2 separate regions of the Homo sapiens genome follow, and region 1 is linked to region 2. Evidence: promoter capture Hi-C in 16 types of primary human blood cells and fetal thymus (Javierre and others, 2016). All regions are on one chromosome and are shown on one strand. Each heading gives the region's core, a stretch centred on a gene start or on the middle of the fragment in contact. The rest is flanking DNA. Distances are from core to core; before and after follow the strand shown.

What was found. Contacts are between HindIII fragments. The CHiCAGO score rates a contact against its expected background, and 5 or more counts as called.
Region 1: a contact is called between a fragment that was not itself captured here and the fragment with the promoter of ATG13 in region 2, in 1 of 17 cell types (naive CD4 T cells). The highest score is 5.6, in naive CD4 T cells.

The regions. Positions count from the first base shown.
Region 1 is chr11:46,231,459-46,236,797 of GRCh38, forward strand. No RefSeq gene overlaps it. Among named protein-coding and RNA genes, the nearest start is that of LINC02710, 14 kb to the left of the region's middle. The HindIII fragment of the contact is 2,592 bases long and covers 2,736-5,327 here.
Region 2 is chr11:46,615,131-46,619,945 of GRCh38, forward strand. It overlaps ATG13 (autophagy related 13), which reads left to right and starts at 2,423. Exons shown (of 19, transcript NM_001346311.2): 1 at 2,423-2,760. It overlaps HARBI1 (harbinger transposase derived 1), which reads right to left and starts at 2,097. Exons shown (of 3, transcript NM_173811.4): 1 at 1,994-2,097; 2 at 438-1,251. The coding sequence starts at 1,107. RefSeq lists an enhancer at 2,230-2,409 and a silencer at 2,389-2,683. The HindIII fragment of the contact is 4,045 bases long and covers 2,283-4,815 here.

The sequences.
Region 1 (5,339 bases), core at 2,782-5,281, 380 kb before region 2:
ATAATTCCAAATATATGACATTGTGGAAAAGACAAAAGTATGAAGACAATAAAAAAATCTGTTATTGGCAGGGAGCGGAAGCACACGCCTGTAATCCCAGCACTTTGGAAGGCCAAGGCGGGCGGATCACGAGGTCAAGAGATGGAGACCATCCTGGCCAACATCGTGAAACCCTGTCTCTACTAAAAATACAAAAATTAGCTGGGCATGGTGGAGCATGCCTGTAGTCCTAGCTACTCGGGAGGCTAAGGCAGGAGAATCACTTGAACCCGGGGGGCAGAGGTTGCAGTGAGCGGAGTGCGCCACTGTACTCCAGCCTGGTGACAGAGCAAGACTCCATCCCCCTCCCAAAAAAAAATCTGTTATTGTCAGGGGTTGCAGTGGGGAGAGAGGGAGGAATAAATAGTTGGAACAGGAGATTTTTAGGACAGTGAAACTATTCTGTATGATACTGTAATGGTAGATACATGCCTTTTATACATTTGTCAAAACCCACAGAATGTACACCACTGAGAAACAGCCTTAATGTAAGCTATGGACTTCTGTTAATCACAATGTATCAGCATTGGTTCATCAATTATAGCAAATGTACCACACTAATAAAAGATGTAAATAATTGAGGAAACTATAGGGGGGAGGGGGAGGTGTACAGGAACTCTCTGTACTTTCTGATCAATTTTCTGTTAACATAAAACTGCTAAAAAAAAAAGGTGGGGGGTGGGGAGCAAGGGGAGGAGGAGCATTAGGAGAAATATCTAATTCACGCTGGGCTTAAAACCTAGATGACGGGTTAATAGGGGCAGCAAACCACCATGGCACACGTATACCTATGTAACAAACCTGCGTATTCTGCACATGCATCCTGGAACTTAAAGAAGATTAAAAACAAAATACAATAAATAAAATAAAATAAATAAAAGTTCCAATAAAGCACATTTTAAAAACAAAAAAAATAAAAATAATAAAGACTACTGATTAAAACCAAAAAAATGGTATTATATATTGGTGGTAGTTGTGTAAATTGCTACAACCTCATTTCATTGGAGCAAAATTTGACAATACCTACCTACCAAAAAAATTTTTTTACAGTGTCACTCTCAGTATACCAAACATTTTAAAGAAACACACTTTTTTTTACCCAGATAAGTCCACTTCTAAGAATTTATCTTTCATATAGACTCACAGGTAGAAACAACGTTTATATAATGATATTCATCAGTTCTGTTGTAATAGCAAAAGATATGAAATAATCTTTTGGTAGACACAGTAATAGCCCCCCAAAAATGTCCATATCCTAATCCCCAGAACCTGTGAATATGCTATGTTACATGGGAAAGGGATTTAAAGTTGCAGATGGAGTTATGGTTGCTAAACAGATGACTTTAAAATAGGGAGATTATCCTGGGTTATCAGGGTAAGCCCAGTGCAATCACAAGGGTTCTTAAAAGTGGAAGAGGGAGAGGCTGGGCGAGGTGGCTCACGCCTATAATCCCAGCACTTTGGGAGGCTGAAGTGGGCAGATCATCTGAGGTCAGGAGTTCAAGACCAGCCTGGCCAACACAGTGAAACCCCATCTCTACTAAAAATACAAAAATTAGCTGGGTGTGGTGGCAGGCACCTGTAATCACAGCCACTTGGGAGGCTGAGGCAGAATTGCTTGAACCTGGGAGATGGAGGTGCAGTGAGCCAAGATCACACCACTGCACTCCAGCCTAGGCAACAGAGTGAGATTCCATCTCAAAAAAAAAAAAAAAAGTGGGAGAGTGAGGTAGAAAAGGAGAGTTGGAGTGATGTGATTGGAGGAAAAACTCAACCTATTGTTGCTGGTTTTGAAGACAGAGGAAGGGGCCACAAGCCAAGGAATGCAGGTGTCCCAGAAGCTGCAAAGCACAGGAAAACAGATTCTCACCTAGAGTCTCCAGGAGGGAACACAGTCCTGCAGATAACTTGATTTTAGCCCAGCAAGTCTCATTTCAGACTTTTGAACTGCGGAACTGTGAGATCATAGATTTATATTGTTTTAAGGCACTGAATTCATGGCAATTTGTTACAGCTGACACAGAAAACTAATAAAAACCTAAATGTCCACCAGTAGAGGACTGGTAAATAAATGCAGTGTAACACCCTGCGGCCTCAAAAAGAATGATGTAGCTTTATATAAATTTACATGGAATTAGTTCCAGGCTACATTAAGTGGGGGTAAAATGCAAACTATAAGAAGAATGTACATAGCATGTTAGCTGTATAAAAAGAGGCACAGTTTAAAACCTACATAGATCCTTTATGTATATCCATAGAATATCTTCGGAAAGATTCACCAGAACCTGGTAACATTTATTGCCACCAGGGGAAGAGAAATGGGTGACAAGGGTTTCCCATGGGAGAGATGTTTGTTTTTCACTGTGTCCCACTTCGTGCTGTTGTGGCTTTTGTTTCTGTTTTTGTTTTATCATGTTCAAGCATTGCTTTAAGAATTTAAAAAAAAAAGACAAAAAAATGTTTAAGGGAGGGAGTTGTGCTCAGTCTTAAATGAGTTTTTAGTGTTTGAATCAGTTTAATAAGTAATGATGGAGCCCCTTCCCTGTGTGGCACACTATCACCTACCTTTTCTCATTTAATCTTCCTTAGCAAACTTGATGGGTCAGTGTTCTTATGATACCCACGGTTGAGGCACTGAGTCACAGAGGGTTAGTGACCAAATTGCACAGCTAGTAAGTTTCACAGTTGGATTTCAAAGCTTGGTCTTCCAGCTCCAGTGTTGTTGCTGGTTCCCACAGCAGTAGGGGTCAGCTTAACCCTAGGACGCTACGACATGGAGTTGTCAAACAGCCATCTCTACTGCTTTTCCTGGCCCTTTTGTAGGTCTCTGAGTTGAGGAGAAGGTCAGCCTCCAGAGGGGCTTTCTGGGTTCAGCCCACCTTCTCCTGTTACATCTCTCAGCAAAGCTCCTTTCGGCCCTTCTGGGGAGAGGCGGCTGCCAGCGGTCACTGCGTTAATTGTTCTCTCTGGTGGGCTCACGTTGCAACAGACCCAGTGCAGCCACCTGCTTTCCTCCCGCGGAGCTGAAACCCTAGAGATGACAGGCCTCTGCCTAGTATTACATCTTGATCAAATAAGACTGCCCTGAGATTTATCATTCCTGCAAATGTCAGGCCGCAGGTGAAGGGGGTGCGTGCACAGAACGAGGACTTCCCTCTTGGGTTTTTCCCCTGCTTGTCGGTAACTTACAAGTCTGGGCGGACAAAATCCACCTTCCTGGGCCTCCCTGTCTGGCAGAATAGAGATCATGTTCCTGCGTGGTAGGGACAGATGTTGCTGGCCCATCTACCTTGGAGGAGCTATGTTTAAATATACTCAAACTGCCTTTCACGTTGAGGGTCACAAAGCATTTTCAAATGACTCATTAGTGAATTTCAATGTCTAGAAAAAGCAAGAATTATTATTTTCATTTTATAAATAGGTCAAAAGTCACACAATCAATGACAGATGTCGGAAACAGAGGTAAGAATTCTGCTTTTGTCTTCGGCTGCAGCCACTAAATCCCACCTCTAGTATCCCCGACAGACCTCCTTTCTGCTCTCCAACTTCTGGCCAAAGACTTGGAATTGGCCTTTATGTGTTTCTACTTAAAGGTTTGAATTCTATGTATGGTTCATATGCCTTTGATATTTCTGGAATTTATAAAAGAAAAGGAGAAGAATGATATTTGATGCTTTTCAGAGATCACGTTGGGACTGAGCCTTATATTGTGGGTCAAATGCCAGTAACGGGGAAAAAAATGGTCACCAGATCTTTAGAAGGTTCACTTTTATTCTCTCTCTGAAAGAATTTTGTCTGTTAAAATTAAGCAGAGTGTATCCTTAGTCACCAAAATGATTGTTGTAGGAATACTGAAAGTCACTGCTTATTGAGCACCAACTATGTGCCAAGCACTGCTCTACTTAACGCATCCACTGTATCGGGTGATTCTCACCAACACCCTAGGAGGTCTTTATCATTCATTGTATAGGTAATATAACTGGGTTCAGAGATAGAAGATGGGATGAGGAGAAAGGTGAGGGAAAGAAGAGAAAGTTCAAAGGAAATTAATTAAAAAGTATTGGGTATATAAAATGTGCCAGATGTGTTGTGTTATAATAGGTGTTGGAGATACAAAGATGAATAAAATATCACTCTCAAGGAGTTGATAGCCTTGTGGGACATTGAGGGTGACAGCTGAAGAGGCAAACATATAATAATAATAATAATAATAATAATAATAATAATAATAATAATGTCAATACAATTCAGTCCAGAAGTATTTATTGAGTTTCTGGTATGTGTTAGACACTGCACTAGTTGCAGTGGATAGTTCCTCTTCTCTTGGTGCTTACCATCTAATAAGAAAGTCAAACATTCATCAAATAATTATACATGTTTAAAATTGCAATTGAGTGCAATAAAAGACACCAGATGGGCCACAGCCTGACAGAGGATTAGTACTCAGAATATATAAAGAACTCCTACTCATAGTAAGAGATAATCTAACAGAAGCACTGTCAAATAAACCAATGAGCAACTTAAAAATGAGGAAATGGCCAACAAACAAATGAAAGTGTGCTCAGTCTCACCTGTTAACAGGGAATTGCAAATTAAAACACTGAAAGGCCATTTCACACCCATCAGCTTGGCAAAAATTTTGAAGTCTGACAATACCAAATGTTGTTGAGGATGCCAAGCATGGGAACTTCCATATATTGCTATCAGACTGTGAATGGTACAACCACTTTGAAAAAACTTTTAGTCATGCTGAGTAAAGCTGCCAGTTCCTCTGCCTTGAATCCAGCAATTCTGCACCCAAGTGGCTACTGGAAGACTTACTTTCACACAAGGGGATGGGTATAAAAAATACTAATCACAATATTGTTTCTAACAGAAAAAAAATTAAAAATAAGTTGAATGTCCTTCAGAAGGACATTGGTAAATAAAGTATGGTGAACTCATATAATGGGACCCAAATAGGAAGTGAAAATTGCATAATCTAGAACTACGTGTATCCATGTGAACACATTTCAAGATTATCCTGCTGGGTGAAAAAAGCAAGTTGCACAATTATATACCCAGTATAATGGTATTTCTTCAGAGTTTAAAAACATACCAAACAATTCTGTAAAGTGCTTACAGGCACAAATATATGTAGCAAAAATACAAAAGTATGCATAGGAATGGTAAAACTCAAAGGCAGAAAGTGATTACCATAGGGGAGGGACAGAAATGAGTTCAGAAGACTAGATCTGTGAGGTTTTATGTCCTTTAAAAAAGATCTGAAGAAAATAGAGCAAATGTTAAGCTTTGACAAA
Region 2 (4,815 bases), core at 1,173-3,672:
TAAACTCCCAACCTCAGGTGATCTGCCTGCCTCGGCCTCCCAAAGTGCTAGGATAACAGGCATGAGCTACACGTGCGGTCCCTTTTCTTTCTTTCTTTTTTTTTTTTTGAGATGGAGTTTTTGCTCTGTTGCCCAGGTGGGGGTGCAATGGCGCCATCTCGGCTCACTGCAACCTCTGCCTTCTGGGTTCAAGCGATTGTCCTGCCTCAGCCTCCCGAGTAGCTGGAACTACAGGCGCCTGCCACCATGCCCAATTTTTGTATTTTTAGTAGAGACAAGATTTCACCATGTTGGCCAGGCTGGTCTCCAGCTCTTGACCTCAGGTGATCTACCGCCTCAGCCTCCCAAAGTGCTGGGGTTGTGTGAGCCACCGCCCCCAGCCTACATAACTTTTCTATGCCTCCAAACAAAATGAAAATTCACACTTGCAAACTTACCCAGAAGCCAGCTATCTTTGTGCATACCCGCTTCAAACTGACTACTGAGGGAAGACTGCTGCAGCACAGCACAGTCCTGTAGGCTGCCGGGCCAGTTTGTCTCCACGGTCATTAGTGTCCCTCTAATGTCACACACCATCAGGCAGTTTAAAGAATGCAGGCCTTTTCGGTTCACATAGGAGAGGTCTTCAGCATTTGGTGCCTTGATGGCCACATGGATACAGTCAACCACCCCCATCACCCCTGGCATCCCTGCCAACCCATAGAATTCATCCTTCAGAGCCTGAATGGAGGCTTCATCAGCTGGAAAGCGAATGAACTGTGAGGCCCTTTCCACAAGTGCTTCAGTGACATTGGCAACACAACGACTCATAGACGCCTGACTGATTCCAATGGCATCTCCCATCCGAGTCTGGAAGGAACCTGAGGTATAAAAACCCAATGCTGCAAGGACCTGTGTCTCTGGGCTAATAGCCCTGGATCGCTGAGTAGGCCTAGAAAGATTCGCCCCCAAGAGCTCCACCAAGTAATAAATGAACTGCCGTGGAAACCCATACATGGACATCAAGTATTCATCAGTCACATCATCCAGCTTAAAACGGTCCAATGTCCGGTGACCACGGCCATATAGCAAGAGGTCACAGTCAAGCACTGTTATTGGTATAGCCATGGTAAATGTGAATGTTGGCTCTCCTCTTTGCTTTTTCTGAACTGTTCCCAATGAAGATGTTGGTGCAAGAACGTATTTTTAAGAAAGTATCAGAATCCAACAGCTAACCACAGTTAAATGGCTCTGCCATTTATAATCTTCTCTCTGTAAATGTTAAAAGAAAAAACATTAGGAACCTACCAAAGACTTTAAAGTGACTCAAAGGCTGGAGCAGCTCCTTTTCTACAAATTTCCATTTTGTTGAGGCAAAACGTACTGTACTTACAACTCCGGATTTTTCTCCACTAACTCATGGCTGCACGACAGGCTTGCTCTGATTCAAGGATAATGGGAATTCAATCTTTGTGGCTCATTTAATGCTTGGCATTTCAATTGAGAACACCAAAAGAATAATGGAGGTGATGACATAATTATTCACAAGGTAAAAGAGGTCGGCTTCTAACTATATAGGCCAAGAAGCAGCTGACATATGTCATAACCACCTTGGGTAAGAATTGGTCACGGGTTTCATTATCCAAAGACTTCTGGTTTCACCTGACAAATACAGGACAGATGCTGGGGTGTTCAAACCAGTCTAACAAGAAAAGAAGGGGCAAAAAAAAAAAAAAAAAAAAAAAAAAAAAAACAACCAAAGTCCACAACCCAGCCTTATGGACGTACACTGTGTGCTGTAACAAAAGGCTTTTCCCTCACTCCAAGAACTCCAAATCGTGAACCTGAGGGCCAGGAAGTACGGAAGACCAGACACATTGGAAGTCGGGAGCGAAAAAGAGGCTGGCCGAACCAGGTTTGGGAAGCGACTCTGCCACTTTTAAAGGGCACCCTAAAAACGGATGTCAAAGTCTGATTGCGCCGGCCACTCAGTTAGCCCAGGCCCGTCACCCACCTCTCCGCGGCTGCCAGGTTACCAGCCACACTTCCCACCCACCCAGCCGGGTTGGGCCCTCCTCCGGAACCGGCGACTGCACAGAGGCCGCCACGGCGCGCAACAGCGGCACCGCCCCTTCCGCGTCAGCGCCCGCCCCGCGCCGCGCCCTCACTGCCGCTGCCGCGGCTACCTGCGGTTCATCTCCGCACATTCCACACGCGGCCCAAACGGTCTCTCTCTCTCTCTCTCAAACACCGCCTTTCCGTCTTTGTTTTATCTTGAGTAGCTTAGAAAGATTGGAGAAGAAAGCTTACGTGGAATGAAAATCAACTTTTATGGATATTTTGAGGACTAAAAGAATAAATAGGGCGTCCGTACTGTAGCGAAAGTGCGACTAAGGTTAGGCATCTGGATTTCCCCCGTAGCCCTCTTTCACCCCCCCCCCCCGGCCATTACCGAAGCGGATGAAAACAAACACTAACGATGGCGGCGCCGGGAAGCGACCGGCTGCTGGGCTTAAGGCGGGAGTGACCGCTTAACCAGTGAGGGAAGCACTGAAGAGCGCCAGTCGACGTGGGTGCGACAACTCGCGGAGTCTTAGGAGCAAAACGTCTGGGGCCTGCGAGCCAGGACCCTTCTGAAGCCTTAGGTGTCTATCGGCGACGTGTACGGTCACTGCAGCTCCGGAGCGCGGAACCCTCAGCCAGGAGGCGCGGCTGGTCGGTCCCAGGTCCCGGCCTCCGTAATGAGAGCCCGGAACCACTCTTTGTGCCGCAGCTTCGCAGGTACTAACTTTTGCGGGGGATACCCCAAGATCTCTCAGCGCCCCCGGGTGGGAGGCTGTGGATCTGCGGCCCCTTGGCTGCTGCTTCGTGGAAGTAGAAGGGATTAGCCACGGTTCAATCCCCTGGGCCCCTGAGTTTTCTGTGGGAAGTTGAGTTGGTCTAGGCCCCGTTGGCCCCTGCTTGTTTGGCAGAGAATCCCCTCCACCCCAGAGCTTTCCTCTCCACTTTTTCAGCTCCTTGGGTTAGGTCGTCAGGCGTTTTGGAGGTAATTTGGGGGGCCATAACTCCGGGGTTGGGTGCCAATATGAGTGAGGTAGGTTTTCATTCAATCAAGATTTGCTGAGTGCCAAATATGTACTCCGCGTGTAGGTGAGGGTGACTGTTGACTAGTGAAAAAAGGGACCCATGGTTCACGACTGTCTTCTTACTGGCAGTGGAACGACCTGTGGAAACCTGTGATCCATTCTCATTAAATAAATCTCTGGGTAAGTGGCTAAGCACCTTCTTGAGCTCATCACTAATTCTTCCCAGTTTTCACTTTTCCAGTGAGTTCCCAGTTAGCCTGGTCAATTCAGCGTAGCATTTCACTTTTGGTATTTCTTCGTTCTCTGGCCACCCCGCAGCCAAAAAGAAAAAAGAGATTTTAAAAAATTACCTATTTTCTCATTACACTTAGTTTAAAACTCATCTCCTAAGGTGATAGAATTTATTGGACACCTTTAGTGGGAGATGTATTATAATAAGAAACAACAAGCTCTTCCTTTACACTAAATTAGCTTCCAGATTTTGTGTGTTGTTTTATGACTGTTAGTCCTTTTCATGTGTGCATGTAGTGGCTCCAGCTCAATTATGAGGTTTTTTTTTTGTTGTTTTCAACTCTCCATTTATCAGCTCAGGAGAAGTCTTTTAGTTTTTTAGATTTTAAAATTTTTATTATTATTATTAGAGATAAGGTATTGCTGTGTTACCCAAGCTGGAGTACAGTGGCGCCTTCATAGCTAACTTTAATCTCAAACTCCTGGGCTCAGGGAATCCTCCCACCTCAGCCTTCTAAAGTGTTGGAGTTACATGCATAAGCCACAGAGTCCGGCCCAGGAGCTTAATCTCGAAGGAAGTTTACTTGAACTTTAGGTGTGGAATATTCGAAAGTAACTTCCAACATGGGGTGTGGAGCTAAGTAAGATGAATTTACATAAACCGTCATTTTTCCTGCATGTGCTTAGTGGAGGAGAGTGCATAGAGTTGCTGGTCATTGCTTCCTATCAAATTGTGGAAACCAATAAAAACTGAAAATATTCTGCGAGAGAATAGAGGTACTGTAGCCAGGAGGAATGCAAAGGAGGCTGCCCAGAGGGAATCAAACCTTTCTAAAGTTTGGGTTTTAAATATTTAAAAGGATTTTAAGTCCCTAAAGGGATTTAAAGGTTATTTTAAATAATTAGCTGATTTTTTTTTAATGTCCTTGGAAGGTAGATTTCTTGCTTTTTTTTTTTTTTTTTTTTTTTTTTTTTGAGACGGAGTTTCACTCTGGTTGCCCAGGCTAGAGTGCGGTGGCGGGAACTCGGCCCACTGCAACCTCTGCCTCCCGGGTTCAAGCGATTCTCCTGCCTCAGCCTCCTGAGTAGCTGGGATTACAGACATGTGCCAGCACGCCCAGCTAATTTTGTATTTTTAGTAAAGATGGGGTTTCTCCATGTTAGTTAGGCTGTTTGTTCTTGAACTCCCGACCTCAGGTTATCCACCCGCCTTGGCCTCCCAAAGTGCTGGGATTACAGACATGAGCCACCACTCCTGGCCGATTTCTTGCTTTTAACTGAAGAGTAAATGTGGGCCAGTTTATTAAAAATCCTCTGAAGGGGCCGGGCAGGGTGGCTTACACCTGTAATCCCAGCACTTTGGGGGGCCGAGGCAGGCGAATCATGAGGTCAGGAGTTCAAGACCAGCCTGGCCAACAAGGTGAAACCCCGTCTCTACTAAAAATACAAAAAGTTAGCTGGACGTAGTGTTGGGCGCCTGTAATCCCACCTACTCGGGTGGCTGAGGCAGGAGAATCGC